Regions from separate parts of the Homo sapiens genome. Here regions 1 and 2 are each linked to region 3. The links are contacts of gene promoters, found by promoter capture Hi-C in blood cells and fetal thymus (Javierre and others, 2016). All regions are on one chromosome and are shown on one strand. The core of a region is centred on a gene start or on the middle of the fragment in contact, and the rest is flanking DNA. Distances in the headings are between cores, read along the strand shown.

Evidence for each region. Contacts are between HindIII fragments. The CHiCAGO score rates a contact against its expected background, and 5 or more counts as called.
Region 1: the fragment with the promoter of EGOT here is called in contact with a fragment that was not itself captured in region 3 in 1 of 17 cell types (M0 macrophages); the score reaches 5.1 in M0 macrophages.
Region 2: a contact is called between the fragment with the promoter of ITPR1 here and a fragment that was not itself captured in region 3, in 1 of 17 cell types (fetal thymus). The highest score is 5.9, in fetal thymus.

Annotation. Positions count from the first base shown.
Region 1 is chr3:4,750,273-4,754,456 of GRCh38, reverse strand. EGOT (eosinophil granule ontogeny transcript) reads left to right here and starts at 2,867. Exons shown (of 2, transcript NR_004428.1): 1 at 2,867-3,511. The region is part of intron 44 of ITPR1 (inositol 1,4,5-trisphosphate receptor type 1); the gene reads right to left. RefSeq lists an enhancer at 70-179. The HindIII fragment of the contact is 1,839 bases long and covers 1,855-3,693 here.
Region 2 is chr3:4,491,917-4,496,259 of GRCh38, reverse strand. ITPR1 (inositol 1,4,5-trisphosphate receptor type 1) reads right to left here and starts at 2,912. Exons shown (of 62, transcript NM_001378452.1): 1 at 2,655-2,912; 2 at 1,754-1,829. It overlaps ITPR1-DT (ITPR1 divergent transcript), which reads left to right and starts at 3,097. Exons shown (of 2, transcript NR_108075.1): 1 at 3,097-3,476. RefSeq lists silencers at 981-1,275, 2,574-2,843. The HindIII fragment of the contact is 5,640 bases long and covers 2,490-4,343 here.
Region 3 is chr3:8,959,675-8,963,725 of GRCh38, reverse strand. RAD18 (RAD18 E3 ubiquitin protein ligase) reads left to right here and starts at 254. Exons shown (of 13, transcript NM_020165.4): 1 at 254-391. The coding sequence starts at 341. RefSeq lists an enhancer at 237-406. The HindIII fragment of the contact is 1,072 bases long and covers 715-1,786 here.

The sequences.
Region 1 (4,184 bases), core at 1,618-4,117, 4.2 Mb after region 3:
CACTGTGGGAACTGTGGCCAGGAGGACATGAAGACTTTCTCATCAGACCTCCACCTTGTCTCATGAACCCTGAAAAGACAGATGCAAGAGGTGCTTGGAAAATTCTATCATCAAGTCCTCTTCCCGGGAGGAGGGTCCAGTGCTGAGGACCTGGCAGTGACTTGGGTGCTGTTCCTCCATGGGGGTGGCAATCTGCATCGTGGAGAGCGAGGGCTGAAGCAGGAGTTGCAGGGTCAGGGGAGTCGATCTCTGGAAACAACTCCCCAGGTCTTATTTCCATTCTGTGTACCTGAGGGACAATGAATCAACACCAACCAACATTTCCTGTCCTCAATGCTCCGAGGTTCCCAGGGAATTCAACTTGAAATTTATACAGATGCCAAGAATAATCCTTGCCACCCCCCCCCCATTTTCTGTGTTTGTGCAGTCACACGGCTCAGTGAAAGCGATCTCTATCCTGCATCTTTAGCAAGGTAGAAACATACGCATAGGGGTGACTTAGGAACTGGGTGGGTTTGGACAGCTCATTTATTAACTTCCATCCTCAGTTCCCTCATCTGCAATGGAGAAAGAGGAGGAGAACCACTTGAGATTCTATTGCAAGGAGTGCAGGAGAGAAAACAGGTGAGAGCCCGCACAGTACCGGCAGGGTGTCTACACCAGCCACGTTCCCTTCGCTGCTCTCCACACAAACTGTGACAAGGACACTTGGCCATAGAAGCCGAAAAAAATAAATCCACTCAGGCCGGATGGAGGCAAGGACACTGGCTTAGGTGGCAAAGCATCAAGCAAAGCAAGTGCCTCCTTGATGAAGACTGCAGTCACCCCCAGTCAACCCTAGTCCTTCCCAACTCAACTGACTCTCGGGTACAGCCGAGTCTGGTCCCCAGCAGAATGCTCTGGGACTCTTCATGTCTCCCCACCCTGCATCCCCATCTTGCTGTGTGCTGGCCCACCAGGTAACTTCCACACGGCCACAGAGAGCATCCCTGGCAGCTGACAGTAAGATGTACAGATGGCCAAGCGGTTAGAGCAGGGCAGGGTGAAATCACACAGCACTCATCTGGGTAAAGCTGCTTTGTATATTAGGGCTTTGGCGGCGGCAGCGCATATCCAAGCAGGGGACAGGCCCAAGCCAACTTGGTGCCCTTTAGAAGCACCGACTAGGGATCGGCGGGAACCACAGAGATCACCTCATCCAGCCCCGACTTGATGACAAGCCCATCACCCTGGTGGAGCAGATACTTTCCGCAGCTCTGCCCCTGACCGACCACCATGGGGTAGACCGCGTTAGCTTCCTTCACTCAGCTCCTCCAACATCCCAAGCACAAGCCAACCCTCTTCTGAAATACTCTTGCCCTCTGCTACTCTTCACACAGCTCCTTCTCTTCGCATCTGTTGGGTCTCAGCTTGAACGGTATCTCCCCAGAGAAGCCCTCCCTGGCCACGCTTCGTGGCGCCTGTTTGCTTCCCCATCACACTTCTCTGAAGCTCTGATTTAGCTGATGATGAGCTGATTTCCTAGCTCTGTCTCCCACAAGACTGTAAGCTCCTGGAGGGCAGGGGCTATGTTGGTCTCATCCCTGACTGTATTGACGCCAATGTGTATAGCACCTGACACCCAGGGAGTGCTCAGTAAGTAAACATCTGCTATATTAAGCCGGCTGTGGTGACACAAGCCAGTAGTTCTAGCTACTCCGGAGGCTGAGACAGAAAGATCTCTTCAGCCCAGGAGTTCAAGGCCAGCTTGGTCAACACAGTAAGGCCTCTTCTCTCTTTTTAAAAAATTTACTATATTAATGAATGAACAATAATCCTGAAGGAGGTGCAATTCCGAAACACTCAAGCCAAGCTTTGCATCCATGGCAGCTGAAGTATAACTTTATGGCCAGAAGAAGCCTGCATGTGAAAGCTCAAAGTCCTGCTAAGTGGGAATATGCAGCACACCGCAGACCAGCCAAAGGCAGCTGATGTGGTGTTGTCACCTCTACGGGCTTATCCGGTTTTTGCACGTAACTCTGTGATGGGCTCAGCCTGGCTGAGGATCCTTAATCCATCGAGTTAACTGTTAACTACCCCGGCCCCAGTGACACAGCAGCTTGCATGATTAACTACAGCCCGGGAGGGATGATCATTTGTGCACCTTCCGTCTCCAAACCTGGCTCCCTCCCCAGACTTGATAGCTACAAGCTCTGGGCTCAACAGTTTGTGGGTTTGTGTTGCAAGGAGGCTAATAAAAACATATTTCTCAAATACCATATGGTGAGGGCAACTGCAACACATCCTCCTCGAAGAGCAATAAAATATATATATTTTTAAAGTCCTGAATTCCAGGGGAAAAACGAGGCTTGAAGACTTCAGAGGGTTTACAGGACTATCCCCTTCAGTGTCAGAGCCATCTTGATCAAAAGTCTAAAACCCAGGAATAGGAAATTGGTAGAAACTTTGAGAGAGCCTCTGACAGTTTCAAAGAGGAACTCAGAGGACCTCAGGAAATGTGAGCGGGCATAGATTTCTCCGTGAAAAGGAGGGTCAAGGCAGAAGAACCAGAGGCAACTGTGAACATCAAGTCAGTTCTCAGGGAAGCAGGGGATCCAAGTGTGTACATGAGGCGCCTTCACTGTCCCTGCATCAGGAATCTAGCTGTTGGCACCTTATAATGAGAAAACAGTCTCAACCATGAAGTTAACTCTGCTGGAAGATTTCCAAAGGGAAAGTCCCTCCCGTTACTCAGAGGGGAAAAAAAAATTACCTACTTGGTCTGGAATCCGGGGATATTTTATGCAGATGTCTCTAACAGAAGTTAATAAAGGGAAGTCAGCTTGCCTCTGATTATTCAAACAGGCTACTGCTATTAAGGATTGCACAACTTCTGGGCAAGGCAGAGGTGGGTTTGGCTTTTTAAAAATTTTTTCAGCCTGTCCTCATGGAACTACATATTCTTTTCTAAGAACTTTTCATCCTAACCTCCCTACTCACATCTTCTAAGTGTCTCTGCTCTGGTGGGAATGTGATGGACAACACAGAGCCATCTCAGAAGCCTCTGTGGCCACCACCAGGCCGGCCAGGGTGCAGGGGGCCACTCCCTGGGCAGCCATAGGGTTCTCAGCAAGGTGCATTCGTCGTCCCTGCTGAGAATCTGATGGGGCAGCATTTTTTTTTTTAATTAAATGCAAGCTGAGTCATTTCAACCTGCAACCTTCAGGTAACAGGAGTTACCCAAGCTCCAGGAATTATGATTGTGGGGTAAACCCATTCTCTTGTTTTCTTGCGGTTCTATTTTATAACGCACTAGAGGAGACAGAGACGTCATTGCTTCACCCAGGGCAAGAGGACAAAGGAGGATGCATGGAAATACAAACAGCCCTTCTCCTCCAGGCCATACCGACTGTCCAACTAGCAACAGACTTCACCTGGTTTTGGAGCAATCTGAATTTGGAATATGCCAGAGAAAACTTCTATCAGGCAAGATGGAAGACTCCTAGGATAGGTCTCTCTCATGGAGGGATTGGTAATAAAAAAATCATGGGAAAAGAAATAAGGGAGGGTGGAAAAAACACACCTTAGAAAACAACTTCTGATGTCCCGGGGCTACACAATGGGGGAGCTGAGCACTTAGGAAGGAGAGGGAAAATATTCTGTTTCCGGAGACAGCTCCAAGAATCATGAGTAGGTGTGAGAAACAAGGAAGCTTACAGATTTAAAAAAAAAAAGAAAGAAAGAAAGGAAGGGGGCAAAAGGAAGGAGTCAGGGAAGGGGGGAGTGAGATCTTTGAGAGACAGGGGAATTAAAAAACACCATAGCAACAACGCAGTCCACCTACCCTGGCCGCCCACCCACAGCCAGATTCTTTACTGACGCATTTGAGAACAAGCTGGTTCCTACCAGCTCAGGAAGGTGAGCAAACCCAGAGAGCTCATTAAATCCCTTCTCAGCGACTCTTGTCTGCCTGCAGATAGTGAGCAAGGAGGATATAAATAGAAGTTATATAACATCTCTTTGTTGATTCCTGTGCTTACCAAAAAAAAATGCAGCATGACCTTGTTTTTCTTTAGAGTTTGCCTCGGCCTGCTGGTTGAGGACTTTAATCCAGATAGGAATCATCTTGAAGTTTAAACAGCAGGATATAGATTTCCAAGTTAAGGGTGCTCTGCATGGCCATCCAAGTTAGGAACCCACAGGGT
Region 2 (4,343 bases), core at 1,663-4,162, 4.5 Mb after region 3:
AACTGGAAGGTATATGAAAAGGTATCAACATTTCACATTGCAGTCTAACTGCAGTTTAAACTTTCGAATTATTCAGATGGGGAAACGCCTGATCCTTTTAACCTACTCAGATTCTTTGATGTAAACAATCAAGATGTATTTCAGCTAGGAGGTGAGCCTAATGCTTAACTTACATAATGTTCCTTGTGGTTTTGTTTCTTTTTACTCTCCCCATTCAGGCTTTCCAAAATGAACTCATTACAGTATCTAATACCTCCTCAAATATCTGCACTCTTTTATCCCTATGTTTGTGGCTACATCCTTTCCTTCTTACATCAATGTTATGTATTATTTCATCATTGGTGGGAGGTATGCAAGTTATTTCATCAGTAGCAGTAAGTTTACCATTTTTCCTAGCTTCCCTCTCACCACCAGCATCCCCAAATCAACTGAGGTCCATTTGTGGGATGCAGTACAGCCTCACCGCCTGAGGTTACACCCTGCTCCTACTTTGTACTAGCTACTGGGCAAGTGATTTCACTCTCTGCACCTCAGTTTCTTCACCTGCATCTGACGCACAGGGTTTCTGAGATACATGGCTCTGGACCTGGCTTACAAGTACTTAATGTGTCCATCTTATTATTTTTAGCAACCAGTTAGAAAAGAGTCTGTGGACCAGTTTTTCCTTGCTGTACAGCTAATTCTGAAAAGGGGAACTGGGCCTAATCCTTGGCTCTATGAGCACCCACACAGCCATGTGAGTCAACAGAACTCCAAGAAGAAACTAGAGTTCTCACATCCAAATGCTTCTCACTCCGCCAGTACTCCTGAGGATCTTATCAACAGGAAACAAAAGCACTATACCACTATAATGAAGTGTCTGACTTTTATTTTCTCATTAGAAAAGCCCAAAGATTGTAGCCCAGGGAACAGCTAAATATTTAGAATGTTAAAAAAGTTATTAAGACCCAGCCACCCACCCCCACCTACCTCTGTTACCCTGTTATTTACCATGTTCCTGAACATTTCAGGAGAAAAAACTCCTGATAGCCAAATCTGCAGCAATAGTGATGTACGTGCACCCGTTGAAACCTCCCACTCTTCAAATGCAGTCTGACCATTTTGGGGAAAAAATAGGAACTGTTGTGTTTACAGATAAATGCTGCTCTCAGCTCATATTCCACCACGGGCCCCAAAACAACAGGGACCTGCCAGATTCCTTGACACTCAGGTGGCTTGAGTCAAGGGCTGGATGCTACCACCTTAAGCTTCAATAACTCACTTCCCTTTTTAAAGTTCTAATTCTTTCAACTTGCAGCAACCACTTTCATTTCTTGCAATCCAACCTACTCTGATTAAGCACACGTTCAAAATTAGAAAAGAGTGACTATTTCTTGAAGGAGAGAGGCAGTTAATACTGCTTACACATTTTGGCATATGAAATGCACTGTATCCTTCAGAATTTAAATCATCAGCATGCTTTTCAGACCGGCAATGGGCCGCCGTTTTATTGCTCCATTTAATGGCCTTTTCCCCTCCTCTCTCATAAACTTTCAGGCTCCTTCAATTCTCAGCTACTTCCAAGAAACGGACTGTCCACTGGACCTCTGCTCCCAAAAGCCCTCACCAAAGGCAGAGGCAAATTTTGAAGACTGAGCCACGGAGTTTCTTTTTCTTTCTTACTCCCCACCTCCTTGGCGGTTTAGATAGAACTTAAAATAGGCTTAGGACAAAAACTCATTATTGACTACAGCACTCAGGCTTCCACACTCACCTGACCTGGGTCAGGCACTCTGTTGCCAAAGCAAGCCCAGCGAGGGGTGCAAATCCTGCTCCTCTGTAGTCAGCTCCTAAATATTTAGAAAGAAAGAAGACTGAGTACCAGACCGCGGAAGATGAGCTCTAACAGAAATGCTCCAAATTACAAGTTTCCACCTTCTTTAGCCTCCTTCACTGGGGACAGCCCCCCCGCCCCCAAACTTGGTAGGCAGGTTGGTGGGATCGCTTGGGCGAAGATTCCAGGTAACTACGCTTACTTATTTCCAGGATGTAACTGACAATTGAGACTAGGCACGCACAAACTTCGAACGTGCGGGAGGCTGGAACTAAGGGAAGTGTTTGGCAGATCCCAAAGCACTTGTTTCCCGGCGAGAAGGCCAAGTATCCGAAGCCCGCATCCTCATTGGACATGAGCTTCGTCCACACTTCATCCCTCACCGCTTCTCCGGTTTTCTTCCGTTTTTAAAAACCCTCCCCACGGGGGGCCCCTACACATGCATTATTCTCCCAACCACGGAGCGCAAGAGAGGGATACATTTTTAGAAAGATTATTTCCTTGAGCAGACTCACATATGACACCCCCACAACCTCTCTTCAAAAAAAAAAAAAAAAAAAGAACTATTTCCTGCAGCTGCAGCAACAGTTTCCAACTTGGGGGAATGCCACATCAGACCAGAATGGGGAGCCCCCAAAGCCACGCACTAGAGTAGAGGATATTTGTTTTTTAAGCTTCAAATGAGCTCCCCCCAAAACAACTGCCCGCAGTAAAGGAACCCCCAAATGCATGCCAAGTGCATGCACATCCATCAAGATCTCCCCGAGAGCGGGGCAAAAACTTCTGCGCCCGGGGAGCCAGTGCCAACTCCCCGCGCCCTCTGCCCGGCCCCAGCCGCTACCTTGGTGCCCGGGGAGCCACGCCGGTTTGGGGGAGCAGGGCGAGGAGAGGGGTTAGCAGCCGCTGGGTAATCCCATGTCCGCGAAGAGGGAGCTCGTTCCGTTAGGATGGAAGCGGAACACCCACACCTCCTCTCGGCGTGCGCTTTCTCTCTCTCCACCCCCTGCCTCCTCCTCCACCACCACCTCCTCCTCCTCCTCTCCTCCCACCCCAGCGAGCTTGAGGAAACGCTTCAGCAGCACATCCACATGGTTACTGCACTTTAAAGCGGCTCCGGGTGGCTTATATAGGCCGGGAAGCTCCCTGGGCAATGTAGTCCAAGTAGCGGGTCGTGGCGGCGCCTGAGGCTGCGGGGAGGGACTACAAGTCCCAGAATCCCCTGGGCGCCCGGGCTGGGCCCTAAATAGACGCGTGCGGGGACAGGGGAGGGGCGTCCTGCGAGGCTTTCAGGCTGCTGAGCCTGTTCCTTGGCTGGGGTCGGTAGGGCTTGGAGCCAGCCGTTCAAAGTCACCCCTGGGAAGCGCCCGCAACCCTTGGGGACGCCTCTCCTCCGGCTGCCCCCCTTCCCTGGAATCCAGGTGTCACTGGGGCCGGGGAGGGGCTAGGAGCTCGGATTTCTGCTTTGGGAAGTTTTTACAAGCCCACCCTCCCCCTGCCTTGGTTCCCCGAGCCAAGAATTTCAGAAATCCGGGGCACAAAAACGCCAGTGTTTGCGGTCAAGGATTAAAGGCGCGAGGTGTCTTTATTTAATCTGCTCCGCCCTGCTCGGGTTTGCACGAGAAACCAAGCCTGGGAGCGACGGTCCACGCAAGCGGAGACACAGGCAAGTCGCGTGAGAGCACTTTTCTGAGCCCGAGTTGCTTGTCTTTTATCGCCCGTGAGGAGGTAAAGAAAGGCAGACCTCTCCGGTGCACAAATAAAGGAGCCGTGTTGTGACTTGCCGGCTCTGAGATTGGGAGGCAGAAAATAAATACAAACCGCGACCTCAGTCCTGACCGTACCTCTAGCAGCCCCTCTGCTCCTGGGAGCTGTAAATGCTTAAGTAAATAAACCGCAAACCAGAAAAATAAGGGCTTAGGAAAGAGCCGCTCACACAGAGATGCGCATCCAGGCGGGGCGCTCTCCAAGAGCTCCGAATGGGGCAAGGTGGGTTTCACCCGCTGCCAAGTAATGCCTGGGCTCCCGGGCTACACGCTGCTTAGGGCTCCGGCTTTTGCAAGGAGGGGAAGAGCTAAGCCCGGAGGCAGTCAGCCGACTGCCCTGTCTTGCCTCAAATGACGTATATTCATTCCTCAAACGTTTCCTGAGTGTTTACTAGGTGCCAGGCGCTGGGGCATAGTGGTGAGCCAAACGCATTATAGCATCCCAGACAGGCACTTCCTGACGCCGCCTAAAGATCTGTTATAACAATAGTAATAATAATGATAATAATCAATGGGGAGGCTGATTTTATTGAGCCCAGACCACATGCAGTTTTCATGCGTCATGCTATTGAGTTTTACCAACTGTAGGTATATTTATTATATCTATTTGGCAGGTGCACAATCCAGGGCTCAGAGAAATCAGGTAACTTCCCAAATGACCCCTCGAGTTAAGTGGTACAGCCTGGACTCCCGTTCCAGACTCTACGTGTATGAAACCCTTGTCTTTGGGGAAATCCACCGCCATTGCCTTAAATAGCCTCTCTCCC
Region 3 (4,051 bases), core at 1-2,500:
GGGCGACCCGGAGGGGGGTCATGAGCCTGGACCTTGACAGATCTGGTGAGGTCTGGATTTGGTTTGATTCCTGGCTATCTTTTCTTAATATTCAACTGGCTCTACGCTTTTTAACCATTCACTTTCTTCAAGGTAAGTGCGGCAGAAGCCTGGCGCATGCGCAGTACAAGCCCTTAAGCGGCGCCCCGCCCACATACTACTACAACTTCCGGCAGGCTCCGCGCCCGCCTCTGGCGCGTCGCGGGCTGCTGACGTAATGCGGTAGCGCGGGGAATTTCGAGTGGTGTTGGAGCGCCGGAGGCTAGTGGGTGGCTGACCCCCAGCATCCTCGGGAGCGACCATGGACTCCCTGGCCGAGTCTCGGTGGCCTCCGGGCCTGGCAGTCATGAAGGTGAGTGCTTCGGGGAGTTTGGGAGCTCCCGGGTGTCTGCGGGGGGAGGTCCCTCCCTTTGAGGAGGATGTCCTCGCCTTAAGGAGAAAGGATGAGGCGCGAGCGTCGCACTGGGCCCGGGTATCCGGCTCTGCCCTGCCACTAGCCGACCGCGTGGCTCTGGGTCTCAGTTTACTCCTCTGATAAGTGACAAGGACAAGCCTGGTGAGCTGAGGTTGGCAGTCTTATGGCACCAGCTATTCTGCGATCCAATCCCAACAATAACATGGAGAAAAACAGTTATTCCAAACAATGACATCGACAGCTGTTCTTTACTGAAAGCTTACTTTGTGTCAAGCACTAAACAGTGACACCGGACATGATTTTGGGTGGACACTTTATCAGATAACATGTATGTAATCACGTAGCCAAGCAGGTAGTCTCCTTTACAGGCTCTTTCATTTCTTCTGATTATTCTCAATAAACGTAGTGCTCGTTTGTTCTGACATACTGCCCCAACTCCTCTCTAACACACCTTCACTCTTCTCTAACAATTGCTCATGTCTCTTAAACAGAGATCAGGACTCAGGCTCAGCGCTGATCTTGCATTGCGTCTGATTATTTCACTTAAATAACATTTATTTTTGTGGCCACTTTCTGTTTTGGCAAGGCATACCAGTTTCCATTTACAGTAGTGGTGGGCCCTGGATTTGCTCAAGAGCAGATGCACTTTGCTGTGCTGGATAAAGATCAGTTGCTTGGTGTTTCTTCTTGCTCTGTGATTATTTCCGTTTCTCACAGTGGCTAAGATAGCCTTCTTCTCCCTCAGTTTTGTAGACTTGGGGATTATAATACCTGTCCCACTGACTCATAAATTTGACTTTAGAATTAAGTGAAGGCTAAAGTAAGTAGAAGGCCTTGTTCTTCCTGCTGTCATCAGTGACGTCTAGAGTGCTTGGGGACTTGAGATATCTGCATGATGAGAAGCTGACATTGTGAAATGATCCAGGAAAGCTGTAGTTTTGGAGTTGTGGGCTTGGCACCAGGATGCAGTGGAGAAGAGCACAGATTTGAGTTCCAGTGGTCCTGGGTGAAATCTCCTGTCTGCCTCTTGACTGTATGACCTTCGGTTAGTAACTTAACCTCTCTGAGCCTGAATTTCTTCAACTATAAATTAGAGACAAAAATAACAGTTCATAGGATTGATTAAATAAATTAGTTGATGTATGTGGGCACAGATTCTGCTGTGTATTCACTGTGCTTACTGCAGTGCCTGACACCAAGTGGGTGCTCAAATATTATTTGCTGCTTGATTGAAAGTATCTGGAATGTAGTAAGCATTCAATGAATATATTTTATTATTATTAGCACTGTGTTAAGTGCTTCTTTCCCCTTTTAATTTGTTGTCATGAAGCTTGACTTGGATAAGGAAAGTAAAAGAGCTCTGTAACCTGTAAAGCTCCTGCTTTGTAGATTTAAGCACACTTTACATATTCCCACAATTTCAGTGTTCTTTAGAGGCGGGTTCCATGTCTTCTCTGACTTTGGTATCTCACCACAGCACTGAATGTAGAGTTTGGCACCACAGAGCGTTCAGTGAGTGTTCAACCAGAGAGTTGATTGAGCCCGTATTTTTTTGCTCACATTGGAATCATGGAATCTTAAGGTTAGAAAACCAGCCCCTTTCAGTATTTTAATCTCCTTTATAACACATCTGCCAATTTCTCACCTAATTTTTGCTTGAACTCTTCCAGGCACAAAGAACTATCAGATCCCAGAAGCAGATCTGACTGAAGTTACTTCTTTTATTGAATAGAAGTCTGACTCAGAATCCATGGTTGCTAACTTAGGATTCACAGAAAGACTTTGGAGTCTCAAGTTATTTGTAAAATTTTTGCATGTATGTTTTTCTGAGCAGAGAGTCCATAGTTGTCATCCATTTTTCAAAGGGATCTGTAACCCCAAAAACTTAAGAGTATTTTTGTAATTATTACGTTTTTCCACCCATTTTCTACTTCTCCCTTTCACTTTCTCTCTCTCTAAACTAAAGAAATTTTGGGGAGTCTGCTGACCACTCTCTATTCAGGCATCATTTTTTGTTTAGTTGGTTGAGGCGCATGTGATATGCATGTTACTGTCTTGGAGTGACATGACAAGAAATTTGAACCAGAAATGGCTCATCTGATGTAGTGTCAACTTCCACAATTGTGCTCTGCAGATCTTTCAGAATCATTCCTCCACCAGAAGAGGATGGCATAGATAAGAAAGTGTGATATAATAGACTGGTTCTGGCTTCTGGGCCTGCCTCTGCTCTTAATTGATCTTGAACATAACCCTTTAGATTTTTGTGTCTGTGACAGCTTACCATCCACAATAATGGAAGATTTTGGCATTTTATTATTTCCCTGGTTTTACTTTAACAAAAATTTACTGTTTTTGGCATATTGTAAATGTAATATGTGTACACGGTAGAAAAAAATTAAAATTCAGAATAAGATAAAGGAGAAAAATAAAACCATCCATAATTCTACCACCCAGAGAACCAGTGTTTAACATTTTACCTTATTTTCCTTTGGTTTTTGTGCATTTAAAATTTGGGATCACTGTGGAGTCAACTTCTTGGGTTTGATCCAGCCAACTTAGGAACTCTGTAGACTTTATTTTTAAAATTGGGATACTGATGCTGTGGACTTCATAAGATTGCTATGAAGATTAAACTACAGAGTTGTTATTATTATGTATTATTGGCATAGGTTTGTTTTCTGATTTTTATTTTCCTAGGGCATTAATTATTCTTTGAAAGCATGTTTTTTAATGGCTGCATAATATTTCATCATATGGACCATTAGCGACATTAGTCCTTTTTTGTTTACATTTTTAAAATTCAGGTAATAGGTTCACATGGTTCAAAATACACATAAAATAAAAAGTAAAAGTCTCCTTCTTACCATGTTCCTGGCCCTGATCATTATTTATGACTTCTTGTTTATCTTCTCATTATTTACATTTACAATGAAAATAGAATGCATTCTTTTTTCCTTTTTTTCTTTTTTGAGATAGGGTCTCACTGTCGCCCAGACTGGAATGCAGTGGCAATCACGGCTCACTGCAGCCTTGAACTCCTGGGCTAAAGCAATCCTTCCGCCTCAGCCTCCTGAGTAGCTGGGACTACAGGCATGCGCCACTACTCCCAACGAATTTTTAAATTTTTTATAGACATGGATTTTTGTTATTTTGCCAGGCTGGTCTCAAACTCCTGGACTCAAGCAGTTCTCCTGCCTTGGCCTCCCAAAGTGCTAGGATTACAGAGCCACCATGCTAGGCCTATTAGAATACATTCTTACTCACCTCTTCCTTTTAAACAAACCGTAGCATAGTATATGTACTGTCTATACCTTATTTCCTTTTTTCACTTATCTTGGCAATCTTTTCATATCAGTATGATGGAGAGCTTCCTCTTTTTTTTTTTTTTTTTTGAGACAGTTTCACTCGGTCATGCAGGCTGGAGTATAGTGGTGCGATGTGGGCTCACTGCAACCTACGCCTCCTGGACTCAAGCGATCCTCCCGTCGAGAGCTTCCTCCTTTTAAAAAATATTTCTGTTGAATGGAATAATATTTTATTTTAAACAATTTGAAAGATTTTAGGTTGCCAGAGTAGTTCCGTTCCTGTTTGGATTGC